2 separate regions of the Homo sapiens genome follow, and region 2 is linked to region 1. Evidence: promoter capture Hi-C in 16 types of primary human blood cells and fetal thymus (Javierre and others, 2016). All regions are on one chromosome and are shown on one strand. Each heading gives the region's core, a stretch centred on a gene start or on the middle of the fragment in contact. The rest is flanking DNA. Distances are from core to core; before and after follow the strand shown. Region 1 holds the start of SNX32 (sorting nexin 32). Region 2 overlaps EIF1AD (eukaryotic translation initiation factor 1A domain containing).

Region 1 (7,136 bases), core at 3,031-5,530:
AGATATCCCCCAGACAGATTGGAGAATTCTCTGTAGAAACCAGACGGTCCCTTCAGTGAGATTTACAGATTCTGATATTTGGGTGTACCCAGTAAAATATCCTGCTTGCTTCAGTCGCCACAGAGTGAAGCCCATAGATCAACAAGCCCCAAATTGTGCTTCCAATTGCCTCTGCTTAATGCCTCATTCTTAAATATGGACAGCCGAAGATCAAACATTTGAGGAAAACTTCCAACAATACACACACAAAAAAAATGGAGCGGGGGGAAGCAGGGGAGGGGAACTCAGGGGAAACAATAAGAAAAGCAGAAGAAAACTTAAAAACTGGAAAAATCCTTGGAGAGCTAAGAGAACAGACTCATGAAACAAGAACAGAAATACTATATATAAAAAAAGAAGCACGGCCGGGCTCGGTGGCTCACGCCTGTAATCCCAGCACTTTGGGAGGCCAAGATGGGTGGATCACCTGAGGTCAGGAGTTCAAAACCAGCCTGACCAACATGGTGGAACCCCGTTTCTACTAAAAATACAAAAAATTAGCCGGGTGTGGTGATGCATTCCTGTAATCCCAGCTCATGCAGTGAGCACAGGAGGCTAAGTCAGGAGAATTGCTTGAACCGGGGAGGCGGAGGTTGCAGTGAGCCAAGATCACGCCATTACACTCCAGCCTGGGTGACAGAGCAAGACTCCAGACTCCATCTCAAAAAAAAAAAAAAAAGCAATCAATGAACAAGAGAGTTAAAATGTAAAATTTCAATAAGAAAGAAAGATACAGTTAATAAAGTTGAAAGTGGATCTCATGAAAATAGAGATGAGATTGGTGGTTACTGGAGGCCAGGAAGGGTGGAGGAAATAAAGACATGTTAATGAGTAGAAATGTACAGTTAGATGGAAGAAATGGGACCCAGTGTTCTATAGATCAGTAGGGTGACTGTAGTTAACAATAATCTATTGTACATTTCAAAATCACTAGAAGAGAATGATTCGAATGTTCCTGGCATAAAGAAAAGATAAATATTTAAGATGATGGATATCCCAATTGCCCTGATTTGATCTTTACACATTATATGAATGTATCAAAATATTACAGGTACCCCCAAAATACGTACATCTACTATACATCAATTGTTTTAAAGTTAATGAAATTGCCCAGAGAATACAATAAAAAGAGACGGGCAAAAGGAGAAAAAAAGATAACAGCTATAATTCAAGGTCTAACATCCTCTAGTAAGGCCAGAGAAAATGGGGTGAGGATACAGGTTGAGTTAGGGAGTGGTAGCAAACAGGTAATTTACATAGAAAAAAACACTATCTATAGAATTAAAAGAAAAGAACAAAAAGACTTATAAATAGCAATACTTGGAAGTTAGAAGATAGTGAGGGAATTAGCCAGGCATGGTGGCACATGTCTGTAATCCCAGCTACTTGGGAGGCTGAGACAGGAGAATCGCTTGAGCCTGGGAGGCAGAGGTTGCAGTGAGCCGAGATTGCGCCACTGCACACTCCAACCTGGGCAACAGAGCAAGACTGTCTCAAAAAAAAAAAAGAAAAAAGAAAAAGAAAGAAAGAAAGAAAGAAAAGAAAAGAAAAGAAAAGGAAATAATGAAGGACATACCAACAAACACAATCACCATTATGGCACGTGGCTTCTTATGTTTTTTCTCACTTCTTTCTTATCTCCTCTCTTGCTTTTGTCACTTGGGAGCCCTTCATTCTTCAGGCTCCTCTTTCAGAAATTTTGCCCACTTCAGTCTGCACCTTCTTCCACAACTCTCAAAATCTACCCTTTATCCTGCTGCAATTCTCCATCTCATAGACCCCATTTAGTGTCAGACTAAATCCTTCTAGCCCATCCTCCATCCTTTTCTCAAACATTTCCCTATGAGCTCCCAGTCACACCTTTTCTCCCAATATCCAAGTGTCCTCTGTCAACACATTACCAAGTCTTCTCTTTCTCCTCCATATGTTCCCACTTCCCTCTGAACCAGAGACTCCTCTTTGCTTCCTTTGATCCTGGCCTCCGCCTTCAGCCCCAGAAGCTCTTTTCCTCACTTCCACTCTCTTTTATTTTAGGCTCAGACTCTCTCCTTTCCTTTCTCAACTTTACCCCTTCAGTGTCAATAATGTTCTGTCTGGCTCTAATTTCTCCTCTGACTTTCAGTACTTCTCCTGTCTGCCTCTTTCCTTCTTTGGTGTCAATCCTTCATCTGCCTCATTCACTGGTACCTTCACCTATAATATCTTTTTTTTCCATAGAAACAGATTCATCAGTGATATCTTTCACTTCACTCAAGATGCCCCCCTCAACTCCCACTCCTTTCTCAGTCCCTTGTAGTTCCTCACTCCCTTTGACACTTTCAAAAGGAATTTCCATCTCATCATGAGTAAATGCCATCACTCTTTCATCGCCAGTAACTTCTACCACTTTTTCAATGTTCTTCTCATTTATGCTCCCCATTCTTGAACCCTCCAATTTCTCCCCGCTGGTCCCTAACTTCTCCTCACTAGATCTCAGCTTCTCCGCACTTGACCCCAGCTTCTCTCCACTCAACCTCAGCTTCTCTCTGCTTGATCTCAGCTTCTCTCCACTGGTTCCCAGCTTCTCTCTGCTTGATCTCAGCTTCTCTCCACTCAACCTCAGCTTCTCATCACTTGTTCCCAGCTTCTCTCCACTCAATCTCAGCTTCTCTCTGCTTGATCTTAGCTTCTCTCCACTCAACCTCAGCTTCTCTCTGCTTGATCTTAGCTTCTCTCCACTCAACCTCAGCTTCTCATCACTGGTTCCCAGCTTCTCTCCACTCAACCTCAGCTTCTCTCTGCTTGATCTCAGCTTCTCTCCACTCAACCTCAGCTTCTCTCCACTCAACCTCAGCTTCTCATCACTGGTTCCCAGCTTCTCTCCACTCAACCTCAGCTTCTCTCTGATTGATCTCAGCATCTCTCCACTCAACCTCAGCTTCTCATCACTGGTTCCCAGCTTCTCTCCACTAGTTCCCAGCTTCTCTCCACTCCATCTCAGCTTCTCTCTACTTGATCTCAAATTCTCTCCACTTGATCTCAGCTTTCTGCCACTGGACCTCAGCTTCACTCCACTGGACCCCTGCTTCTCTCCCCTGCACACCAGCTTCTCACTAGTAGACCTCAGCTTCTCTACACTTGATCTCATCTTGTCTACACTAGACCTCAACCCCTTCTCATCCTGTCCCAGTTTATATCCATTGGATCTCAAGTCCTCTCCACTGGTCCCTACCTTCTCCCCAGCAGACCTCAACCTCTCTTCAAACCCAGACCCCTTCATAGGCCCTGCTGTCATCCCTGCACTCTTAGATTTAGCCTTTATTTCGTGTTTGACCTCTTGCTTTCCCCAAATACCCCTTGGGCTGTCTTTCCCCAAATCTGCTGAAGCTTGTGATGCACTTGCTCCACGGTATAGCAGCTTCACATCCATCCTTTCCTGACTCGGGCCTGACTTCCCTTTCAAGACCGTCTTTTCCACATCTTCCAGTCTCCAGTACTCAGACTCCAGCTTCGGCTTTCGAGTGTTTCTAGTCAGGAGCTCCACTCTCTTCCCAATTACCATGAGCCCGTTCCAAGGTCCCCAGGTTTTCTCTCGCAGCATCGGCACCCCCTTGCAGCCCCGCTCCAGTGGCGACCGTTCGCGGACCCCGGCCTCGCTTGGGGCGCCCTGGCCGCGGGACTTGTGGAGCTCCCTAGTCCTCCTAGGCTGCTTACCCCGCCGCTCCCTCCCGTCCAAGAGCGGAAACCTAAACAGACCCCCCTTCTCCACAGACATTGTCCCCTGCCCTCGCCCCTGGTCCACCACCCACATCCCCACCACTGCTTCCCATTCCCTGTCCCCACCCTGCCACCCTCACCCTCTTCCCCTTCCCCTTCCCCTTCCCCACTGCCTGGTGGGCGCCAAACTGGGCGAGTGCGCACGCGCAGGCCGCACGTGGCCGTTGGAAGGAGGGGCCCGGAACGGCGGCACGGGGTTGTTGTGGGGGTCAGTCCCCCGGGGACTGGAGGGAGACGCGGCACGCGGCCTCTGCGACCCTATGAACTCTGACCCCAGCTCCCACACTGTCGCCTATCACCGGCCCACTCTCCGTGCCGCGTGTCCCTTAAAAGCTGGGGCCTGGGACAGGAACGACAGACAATGCAGCCAATGGCGTCACGCGCGGTGCCCCGCTACCCAATCGAAAGGCGTGGCTGAGGGAAACGCGGTGGGAACCGCCCCCGACTCCAGGCGACTCCTTGGCCGGGCGGGGGAGAGCGTCCCCGTCAGCTGAGAGCATCCTCACTCGGTCAGTTCCTCGGGCGAGTTACGGGGACGACCTGCGGGAGCACGCGGGCAGTGGCCGGACGCTGAAGCCCAGGAGAGCGATGGAGACGTATGCGGAGGTTGGGAAGGAGGGCAAGGTAGAGAAAGGATGAAGACCCCCACCCCAGCCTCCCCTCACTCCATGAAAGCCCGTGATGCCCAATCATGCGGTGGTGTGTGTGTGTCTGTGTGTGTGTGGTCTGCCTCTGTGTGTTTCTGTGTGTGTCTGTGTGTGTATAGTCTGCATGTGTCTGTTTCTCTGTGTGTCTGTGTGTATGTCGATGTGCCTGCATATGTCTGTGTGTGTGTGTATCTGTGTATGTCTGTATTTGTGTCTCTGTGTGTCTGTGTGTCTGTGTGTGTCTCAGTGTGTGTCTGTGTCTTTGTGTGTCTCTGTGTATCTGTGTGTGTGTCTGTGTGTCTCCGTGTCTCTGTGTGTGTGTGTATGGCCTGTGTGTGTCTGTGTGTGTGCACGTATGCGTCCATGTGGGTGTTTGTGCGTGCATGTCTGTGTCTGTCTCTGTGTGTGTCTGTGCATGTCTGTGTGTGTGTGTCTGTGTGTCTGTGTCTGTGTATGGTCTGCGTGTGTCTTTGTGTCTGTGTCTGTCTGTGTGTATGGTCTGCATGTGTGCATGTATGCATCTGTGTGTGTCTCTGTGTGTATCTGTGTGTGCACGCATGTGCCTGTGTGTGTCTGCGCAGGTCTGTGTCTCTTTGTGTCTGAGTGTGTGTCTGTCTCTGTGTCTATGTATGGTCTGCGTGCATCTTTATGTCTGTGTGTGTGTGTCTCTGTGTGTGTGTATGGTCTGCGTGTGTCTGTGTGTGTGTGTCTGTGTATTTCTGGGTCTGTGTGTGTGTTTGCATGTGTCTGTGTGTGTCTGTATCCGTGTGTCTTTGTATATCTGTGTGTGTCTATGTCAGTGTGTCTGTGTGTGCATCTGTGTGTGTCTGTGTGCCTGTGTATGATCTGTGTATGTCGTTGTGTGTGTCTGTGTGTGTGTTTCTCTGTGCCTGTGTGTTTGTGTGTGTCTGTGTATCTGTGTGTGTTTCTATGTGTGTCTGTGTGTGCGTGTGTCTGTGTTTGTCTCGTGTGTCTGTGTGTGTGTATGTGCCCATGTGTCTCTGTGTGTATGTGTGTGTCTGCGCAAGTGAGAGAAAGGAGACTTGAGCAAGGGAGTGGGGAGCCTCTGTGGCACCTGTGTGCGGACTGATGAGGATGCCAAGGGAGGCAGGGTTTTGCCTTTGTCCTTACAGATGGAAAGGGACCCGTCACTGTCACTCTTACCCTCCCCAAGACCAACTCAGGCTGTCTTGATGGGGGTAGGTGGGTAGGGGGTGGGAGGTGAGGGCGGGGAGGAGGGCAGGATGTTAGGGATTGAGCAGAGGCTGGCATCCTCTTCTCCTTTCCCAAGGCGAGAGAATCCTGTTCAGCCCTAATGGCTTCACTTGTGTTCTGAGTTCATGTAATGATAAGACCATTTCTTCCTTTTGACTTCCTTCAGCAAAGAGTTGTCGAGCATCCACGTTGTGCCAAGGATGGTTAGAGCATGGAGAGGTGCACCCTTTTGGGAGATGGAGGCATATGCATAGTGGGCCGTGGCTGAGGATGAGGATGGAGCAGCTGTGGTCCACCTTTGAGGCCCATCTCCCTCAAGCAGCTACCAAGCAGTGTAGGTCAGAGTAGAGATACTAAGGCAGGAGGAAAGAGGCTGGGGACTAGGGGACCTGCTGCACCAGTTAGCCAGACTGCATGTGTTTGGGGTCTGGGGCAAGGGGAGAGCCTGCCTTGGGAGTGTCAGAGAAGCCAAGAAATGAGGAGCGGGGTTCAAGTGGTTTAGAGGGGCAAGAGGGGCTGAGAGACACAAAGCATGGAACAGAATGGTCTGCTTCAATGTTTATCTATGTATGTTCATCTTCATGGTTAAAGGAGTTAACATATATAAAATGCTTAGGGCATATACATGAAATGGTTAGAGTGGTGCCTAGCATATTGTAAGGGCCAACATAAGGGTTAGCTATTATATTATTATTATTGTTATATTATTTTTGCTGTATGTTCTGAGGATGTGCTGAGCTATTGAACAGATGGATGCACCCCCCAGCCTTTGCAGGAGCCATACTCTGAAAGTTCACTACCAGTACTTATCCTCTAGGTTAGGTGTTGCCTTCTCTAAGATCTTCCTTTAAATATAGAGACATTAAAAGAATATATAAGCAAAAATATAATAGAGGAGAAAATGAAATAATATAAAATACTGGCCAGGCGTGGTGGCTCAAGCCTGTAATCGCAGCACTCTGGGAGGCCAAAGCAGGCAAATCACTTGAGGTCAGGAATTCAAGACTAGCCTGGCCAACATGGTGAAACCCCATCTCTACTAAAAATACAAAAAATTGGCCAGACGTGGTGGTGCGCACCTGTAATCCCAACTACTTGGGAGACTGAGACAGGAGAATAGCTTGAACCCAGGAGGCAAAGGTTGCAGTGAGCCAAGATCGCACCATTGAACTCTAGCCTGGGCAACAGAGCGAGAATCTGTCTCAAAAATAAATAAATAAACCCAGAGGATTATAAATAATTATACTATAAAGACACATGCACACGTGTTTGTTGCAGCACTATTTACAATAGCAAAGACTTGGAACCAACCCAAATGCCCATCAATGATAGACTGGATAGAGAAAATGTGGCACATATACACTATGGAATATTATGTAGCCATAAAAAAGAATATCATGTCCTTTCCAGGGACCTGGATGAAGCTGGAAGCCATCATTCTCAGCAAACTAATACAGGAACATAAAACCAAACACCACA
Region 2 (7,136 bases), core at 1,435-3,934, 160 kb after region 1:
GGACAGCAGAGAATGGGCTGGTCAGGGTAGGATGGGAGGTGGAGTATGTTACTTGGGTTATTGTTAAAGTCCTAGCCTTTATTTTATGGTGGTGGGTTTGAAGCTGCTCACATTATTAAAAATAACCAACCAAATATTTAATTATTCTTGACTTTTAATTTTTTATTGAAAGGGAGTCTCACTATGTCACCCAGGCTGGCCTCAAACTCCTCAAGGGCTTAAGCAATCCTTTCCCTTCAGCCTTTCAAGTAGCTGGGATTACAGGCATGTGCCACCATGCCCAGCCAAAATGTTTAAATATAGGCCAGACTCAGTGGCTTACGCCTGTAATCCCAGCATTTTGGGAGGCCGAGGCGGGTGGATCACCTGAGGTCAGGAGTTCGAGACCAGCCTGGTCAACATGCTGAAACCCCGTCTCTACTAAAATATAAAAATTAGCCAGGCGTGGTGGTGGGCGCCTGTAATCCCAGCTACTCAGGAGGCTGAGGCAGAAGAATGGCTTGAACCTGTGAGGCACAGGTTGCAGTGAGCTGAGATTGCACCACTGCACTCCAGCCTGGGTGACAGAGCAAGACTCCATCTCAGAAACAAAACAAAACAAAACAAAACAAAGAAAGGAAAAAGAAAAAGAACTACAGGATAAACCCAGAGGGATTGGTTTGTTTCCCATTGGTTATGAGAAAAAAACAAAAACAAACAAAAACAAAGGGAGTATAAGTGGGAAATACGGTAAGAGCAGCAATTAATGAAATACCAATACAAAGAATGACAACAAAAAGCTGGTGCTTAGAAAAGACTAATAATGACCTTCTGCCAAGATTGACCAGCTATAACAGAGAGAAGGCACAAATAAACAATATTACATGTAAAAAGGGGGACATAACTTTGGATACAGCCAAGATTACAAACATAAGGCAATCATACAAATAACTTTGCGCCAGTAAGTTTGAAGCCATAGCAAACATGAGAAAATATGGGGGCTGGGTGTGGTGGCTCACGCCTGTAACCCCAGCAATTTGGGAGGCTGCGGTGGGCAGATCACCTGAGATCGGGAGTTTGAGACCAGCCTGGCCAACATGGTGAAACCCCATCTCTACTAAAAATACAAAAATTAGCCGGCCATGGTGGCACATACCTGTAATCCCAGCTATTCGGGAGGCTGAGGCAGGAGAATCACTTGAACCCGGGAGGCGGAGGTTGCAGTGAGCCGAGATGGGGCCACTGCACTCCAGCCTGGGCGACAGAGCAAGATCCTGTCTCAAAAATAAATAAATAAATAAATAACATGAAAATATTTTTCCTTGAAAATATGACTGAAGAACAGAACACCTGAGTAATCTATTACCACTGACAATCTAATTCCAAACCTACCTACCCACCCACCCAAAAAATCGCCAGGCATGGTTGGTTTTACAGCAAGCTTTACCAAAAATTGTAGAAATGCAAAATTCCAATCTTATACAAACTCTCGTAATGAAAATAAAGGGAAAACACTTTCCAACTTATTTATATGAAGCTGGTATAACCTTGATACAAAACAAAGGGTGGGGGCAGTACGGAAAAGGAAAACCTTAAACCATTTCACCTATACACCTGGATGCCAAAATACCAGAGAACCAAATCCGGCAGTATAATAACAAATCCATTGTGACTGTCTTCTTCCAGGAATGCAAGGATATCTTAACGTGAGAGAATGTTATGATACTCCACCACATTTACAGATTAGAAGAGGAAAACCATGTGGTGAGCTCAGACTGCCATCTGTGCTCCCTGGCACACACACAGGGGTGGCTGGGTGGCAAGGGGGGAAAGCGCACTGGGCCACACGGGGAAGCCCTGGTGGAAATGACCTGGCTGTAGAGGTTAGTCCTGAAGTGACAGAGGTACAGATTCTGAAGGGCCACAAAGTCTCAAGCATAACTGCAAGAGAAGCCAGTAAGTACTATTAGGCAGCCAGTCACAGGGACTGGCCATGACATCGGGACAAGGGGCTCTTACATCAGATCTCAGCTCACTCAGGGAGATCTATTCATACATGGTTGGATCCCACCATTCAGTTGGAAGAACAGAGGTGGAATCCAGCTTCAGAGAATGACATAGGAAAGTAGCATGCAGAATACAAGGACCCTACCTCCATCAGTACCCTTAGCTACAGCCCACAGAAGCTGAATGGCTGGTAAGAGATGAAGAAGTGGAAACGAAAAGGTTTTAGGGGGAAAAAAAGATGTTACTAGGTGGATCACAGTATCACTGAGAGAATGGAGAAGAACATAAGACCAAGTTTACAGATAAAACGCCAAAACACACACACACAAAGTGGGGAACAGTCAAAGGACTATTTAGAAGAAAACATATAGCCCTGAATATATTAGAAAACAAATTGAAATTAAATTAGCTAAGCACACATCTCAAGAACCCAGAATGAGCAAATAAACCCAAAGAAACGAAGGAAAAGTCCAGTAAGGAAGACCTCTTGCAAAGCTAGCCAAATAAAATACACAAAATATAAACATATTTTGTTGATTTCACCTGCCCTCACCCCTTGCCCCACTTTTTCTGGTAATAGAACCTCTCTATTCCATGGGAAACATATAAAAATTACTTGTGGCTCATCCTGCCCCACCCCAGTCCTCCACACCCTCCCACCCCCCGGCCCTGGCCACAGTGACTGCTCAAGCACAGCAAGTGACCTGAGGAAGATCAATCGCCCTTCACGGAAATACAGGGATCCTCAAGAGCCCCAAGGGGCTCTGTCTACAAGGACTGTGTATAAACTTGAGCGTCCTGGCTGGGCGCAGTGGCTCATGCCTGTAATCCCAGCACTCTGGGAGGCCGACGCAGGCGGATCACGAGGTCAGGAGATCGAGACCATCCTGGCTAACACGGTGAAACCCTGTCTCTACTAAAAATACAAAAAATTAGCCGGGCGTGGTGGCGGGCGCCTGTAGTCCCAGCTACTCAGGAGGCTGAGGCAAGAGAATGGCGTGAACCCCGGGGGGCGGAGCCTGCAGTGAGCCGAGATCGCGCCATTGCACTCCAGCCTGGGCAACAGCGAGACTCCGTCTCAAAAAAAAAAAAAAAAAAAAAACTTGAGCTTTCTACAGAAAACATCTGTAGGAGGGAAAGAAATTAATCAGCCGGGAGCAGAGATGACAGAGATAAATGAGAGAGCCTGAGGAATTCATGCTGCTGGCATTGGTTCATCCCTGCCCGATGCGCACCACTCAGAGACCTCAGGTCAATGAGCCTTGCTTACTTCTCCTAATTTGAGTTCAATTTTGTCATTTATAAGAAAGTCCCGCATACGCCAGGATGGTGGCTCTCACCTGTAATCCCAGTACTTTGAGAGGCCAGGGCAGGAGCATCACTTGAGCCTGGGAGTTCGAGACTAGCCTGGGCAACATAGGGAGAGCCTGTCTCTACTAAAAATAAAAAAAATTAGCCAGGTGTGGTGGCGCGCACATGTGGTTCCAGCTACTCAGGAGGCTGAGGTGGGAGAATCACTTGGGCCTGGGAGGTCAAGGCTGCAGTGGCGCCATGATGGCCTGGGCAACAGAGTGAGAGGCTGTCTCAAAAAAAAAAAAAAAATTACTGGGTGCAGTGGCTCACCCTTGTAATCCCAGCACTTTGTGAGGCTGAGGGGGGCCAATCACCTGAGGTCAGGACTTTGAGACCAGCCTGGTCAACATGGCAAAACCCCATCTCTACTAAAAATACAAAAATTAGCTGGGTGTGGTGGCGGGTGCCTGTAATTCCAGCTACTTGGGAGGCTGAGGCAGGAGAATCACTTGAACCCGGGAGGTGGAGGTTACAGTGAGCCGATACTGCACCACTGCACTCAAGCCTGGGCGACACAGTGAAACTCTGCCTCAAAAACAAAACAAAAACAAACAAACAAAAAAAGAAAGTTCCAAATAATACAAATATTATGCATGAACTTTTGCCCAAAAAGCTTAAATATATATGAAATATGATCCTGGAATGATACAAATGATCAAAATTGACTCAAGGATAGAAAACTTTAGACAGAACACAACTGAATAAACTAAAAGGCAGTGAAAGATCCACCCCTGAAAAAGGTACCCAGCACAGATGTTTTTGTAAACAAGTTCACAACGTTGAAGAAACAAATGCCTGGCCTATAAAGTATTCAAGCCTGAAGAAAAAGACGTCTCCAAACCCATTTGCAAGGCTAGCATAAAGCTAATCTCGAAATAGAACAGGAAGGTCATTTTTTAAAAAGAGGGAGGGGATTGGCCCAGGGAGAGAGATAAAACTCCTAAGTAAATACATAATATACTGTAAAACTAAGCAAGGTTTATATCAGAAAGTAAGGTGTGTCCAACATTAGGAAACCTATTACTGTAACTCAGTACAATCATACAATAAAATCTTTTGATTTTCTCCATAGATGTCAACATTCATCACTGTTAAACAAAAGCGAAGGAGAAAAAAAAAACAGTAAGATGGAACAAAGAAAACATCTTCAGTCTAATGAAGATCATCTACCGGAAGCCCAGAGCAAGCGTCCTACCTCAGGACGCAACGTGAGAACCATTCCCACTGAGAAAACATCAATCAAGGGTGCCATGCAACCACGGTGGAGGTCCTGGCCTCTGAGATTCACAAGAAATAGACATGAGTGTAAAGGAGGAGATAAAACTGTCATTAGTGGGATACGATTTGGCTATCTATAAAGCCACAAGATCAACTGAAGAACTGCGCATTCGACAAGGTGGGCAACACAAAGATGGACACACAGGTGGATGCCAGGGATGGGGAAAGGTGATTTCCACAGATCCTTCACTACCAGTAACTAGGACTTTCATAAAACTCCTAAGACTAAACCAAATTGGAAGTAAAGGCCCATTTGAAGACCACACCACCTTACCAAAGAACATACCTCATTTCTGGACAGGAAGATGAAAAACTGTTAATTTTTCTACAATATTTATTTAAACAAAACTAAAAATAAACTGTTAAGATACCACTTCTTGGGTGGACATAGTGGCTCACGCCTGGAATCCCAGCCCTCTGGGAGGCTGAGGCGGGAGGATGGCTTGCCCAGGAGTTTGAGACCAGCCTGGGCAACATAATAAGACTGGCTCTACAAAAAAAAAAAAAAAAAAAAATAGAAAAAGAAAAATTAGCCCGATGTGGTGGTGCACACCTGTGGTCCCAGCTACGCAGTAGGCTGAGGTAGAAGGATCGCTTGAGCCCAGGAGGTGGAGGCTGCAATGAGCCATGATTGCATCACTGTGTTCCAGCCTGGGTGACAGGAGTGAAACCCTGTCTCAAAAAAATAAAAGTTGAAACTCCGTCTCTACTAAAAATACAAAAATTAGCCGGGTGTAGTGGCAAGTGTCTGTAGTCCCAGCTATGGAGAGGCTGAGGCAGGAGAATCGCTTGAACCTGGGAGGCGGAGGTTACAGCGAGCTGAGATCACGCCACTGCACTCCAGCCTGGGTGACAAAGCAAGACTGTCTCAAAAAAAAAAAAAATGCAGTATGGGCACACGGATCAATAGGACAGATTAGAAATTCCAAAAAAGATCCATATATATGCAGGAATTTATGTTTTAAAAGATATTTCTGGCCAGGCGTGGTGGCTCATGCCTGTAATCCCAGCACTTTGGGAGACCAAGGCAGGCAGATCACGAGGTCAGGAGACTGAGACCATCCTGGCTAACAACGGTGAAACCCCATCTCTACTAAAAATACAAAAAATTAGCCGGGCGTGGTGGTGGGTGCCTGTAGTCCCAGCTACTCAGGAGGCTGAGGCAGGAGAATGGCGTGAACCCGGGAGGCAGAGCTTGCAGTGAGCCGAGATGGCGCCACTGCACTCCAGCCTGGGCAACAGAGCGAGACTCCGTCTCAAAAAAAAAAAAAAAGAAATATTTCCAGTGAGCAAAGAATGAACCTTTCAAGAAATAGTACAGGGACAAGTGACTTTCCCTTTAGGGAAAGTTTGCTACCTCTCAGAAAAAACAAACTTCAGATGAATTAAAGATAGATACACACACATACATATCTTTAACCCATCTCGTTTATTTTTTGTATATACATCTACATACATTTTATACATTATATTCATATATACATATATACAAATGTATATATGTTTAAAGCCACGCTATAAGAGAAAGTAAATGAGAAACAGACAAATGAAGTGGTAGCTGGAGGACGTGGGAATCAGTACAGGTTTTCACGCCTGTTTCAGAAATGGGAGATTCTACAGCACGCTCGACACTAACACATCACATCCATAACATATCACATCCAATAGACAGGACAGCCAAAAACACAAAACAAAAAAAGAATCAAATACCCACACCCAGACACAATACTCAACAACACAAATACCCGACCAAAGTCTTTAAGAAAGCAAAAGAGGCCGGGCACAGTGGCTCACACCTGTAATCCCAGCACTCTAGGAGGCCAAGGTGGGTGGACCACTTGAGGTCAGGAGTTCGAGACCAGCCTGGCCAACATGGCAAAACCTCGTCTCTACTGAAAATATAAAAATTAGCCAGGCATGGTGGCACACGCCTGTAATCCCAGCAGTTTGGGAGGCTGAGGCAGGAGGCTCATTTAAGGTCAGGAGTTCGAGACCAGCCCGGGCAACATGGCAAAACCCCGTCTCTACTAAAAATACAAAAAGTTAGCCAGGTGTGGTGGTGCACGCCTGTAGTCCAAGCTACTCGGGAGGCTGAGGCAGGAGAGTTACTTGAACCCAGTAGGTGAAGGTTACAGTGAGCCGAGATCACACCACTGCACTCCAGCCTGAGCAACACAGGGAGACACTCTCTCAAAAAAAAAAAAAAAAAAAAAAAGATAGTCTCCAAAACACAAGAGGTAAGGTTTAAGTCCCATTGGCTTACGACAGGAAGATATGTGCACATCTGCAGAGCTGGTAACAGGGAGGCAGGCATTCCCTCTGATGGTTGCTGTTTCTTAATGAGGCATGTGTTGTGGTAACTACCACAAGGGGGAATTGATAGATAAGACAGAAGTTTTGAAACAGACATCCCAGAGTAGATCTGCTGGGCAGTGCTTAGTGTCCATCTGAGGTTTGTAATGATAAACGTAAGGTACAACTGGTGGCCAGGCTGGCTGTTTTCTCACCTAATGATGGTG

What was found. The method cuts DNA at HindIII sites, captures the fragments that hold promoters and counts their contacts. A CHiCAGO score of 5 or more calls a contact.
Region 2: a contact is called between a fragment that was not itself captured here and the fragment with the promoter of SNX32 in region 1, in 4 of 17 cell types (erythroblasts, M0 macrophages, naive CD8 T cells and 1 more). The highest score is 6.7, in erythroblasts.

The regions. Positions count from the first base shown.
Region 1 is chr11:65,829,683-65,836,818 of GRCh38, forward strand. SNX32 (sorting nexin 32) reads left to right here and starts at 4,281. Exons shown (of 13, transcript NM_152760.3): 1 at 4,281-4,419. The coding sequence starts at 4,384. LOC124902693 reads right to left here and starts at 4,117. Exons shown (of 7, transcript XM_047427980.1): 1 at 1,616-4,117. The coding sequence starts at 3,829. The coding sequence ends at 2,213. RefSeq lists silencers at 3,833-3,962, 4,136-4,348 and an enhancer at 4,273-4,362. The HindIII fragment of the contact is 7,193 bases long and covers 3,404-7,136 here.
Region 2 is chr11:65,990,518-65,997,653 of GRCh38, forward strand. EIF1AD (eukaryotic translation initiation factor 1A domain containing) reads right to left here. Exons shown (of 6, transcript NM_001242481.2): 6 at 6,028-7,136. Among named protein-coding and RNA genes, the nearest start is that of EIF1AD, 8.1 kb to the right of the region's middle. The HindIII fragment of the contact is 2,532 bases long and covers 1,419-3,950 here.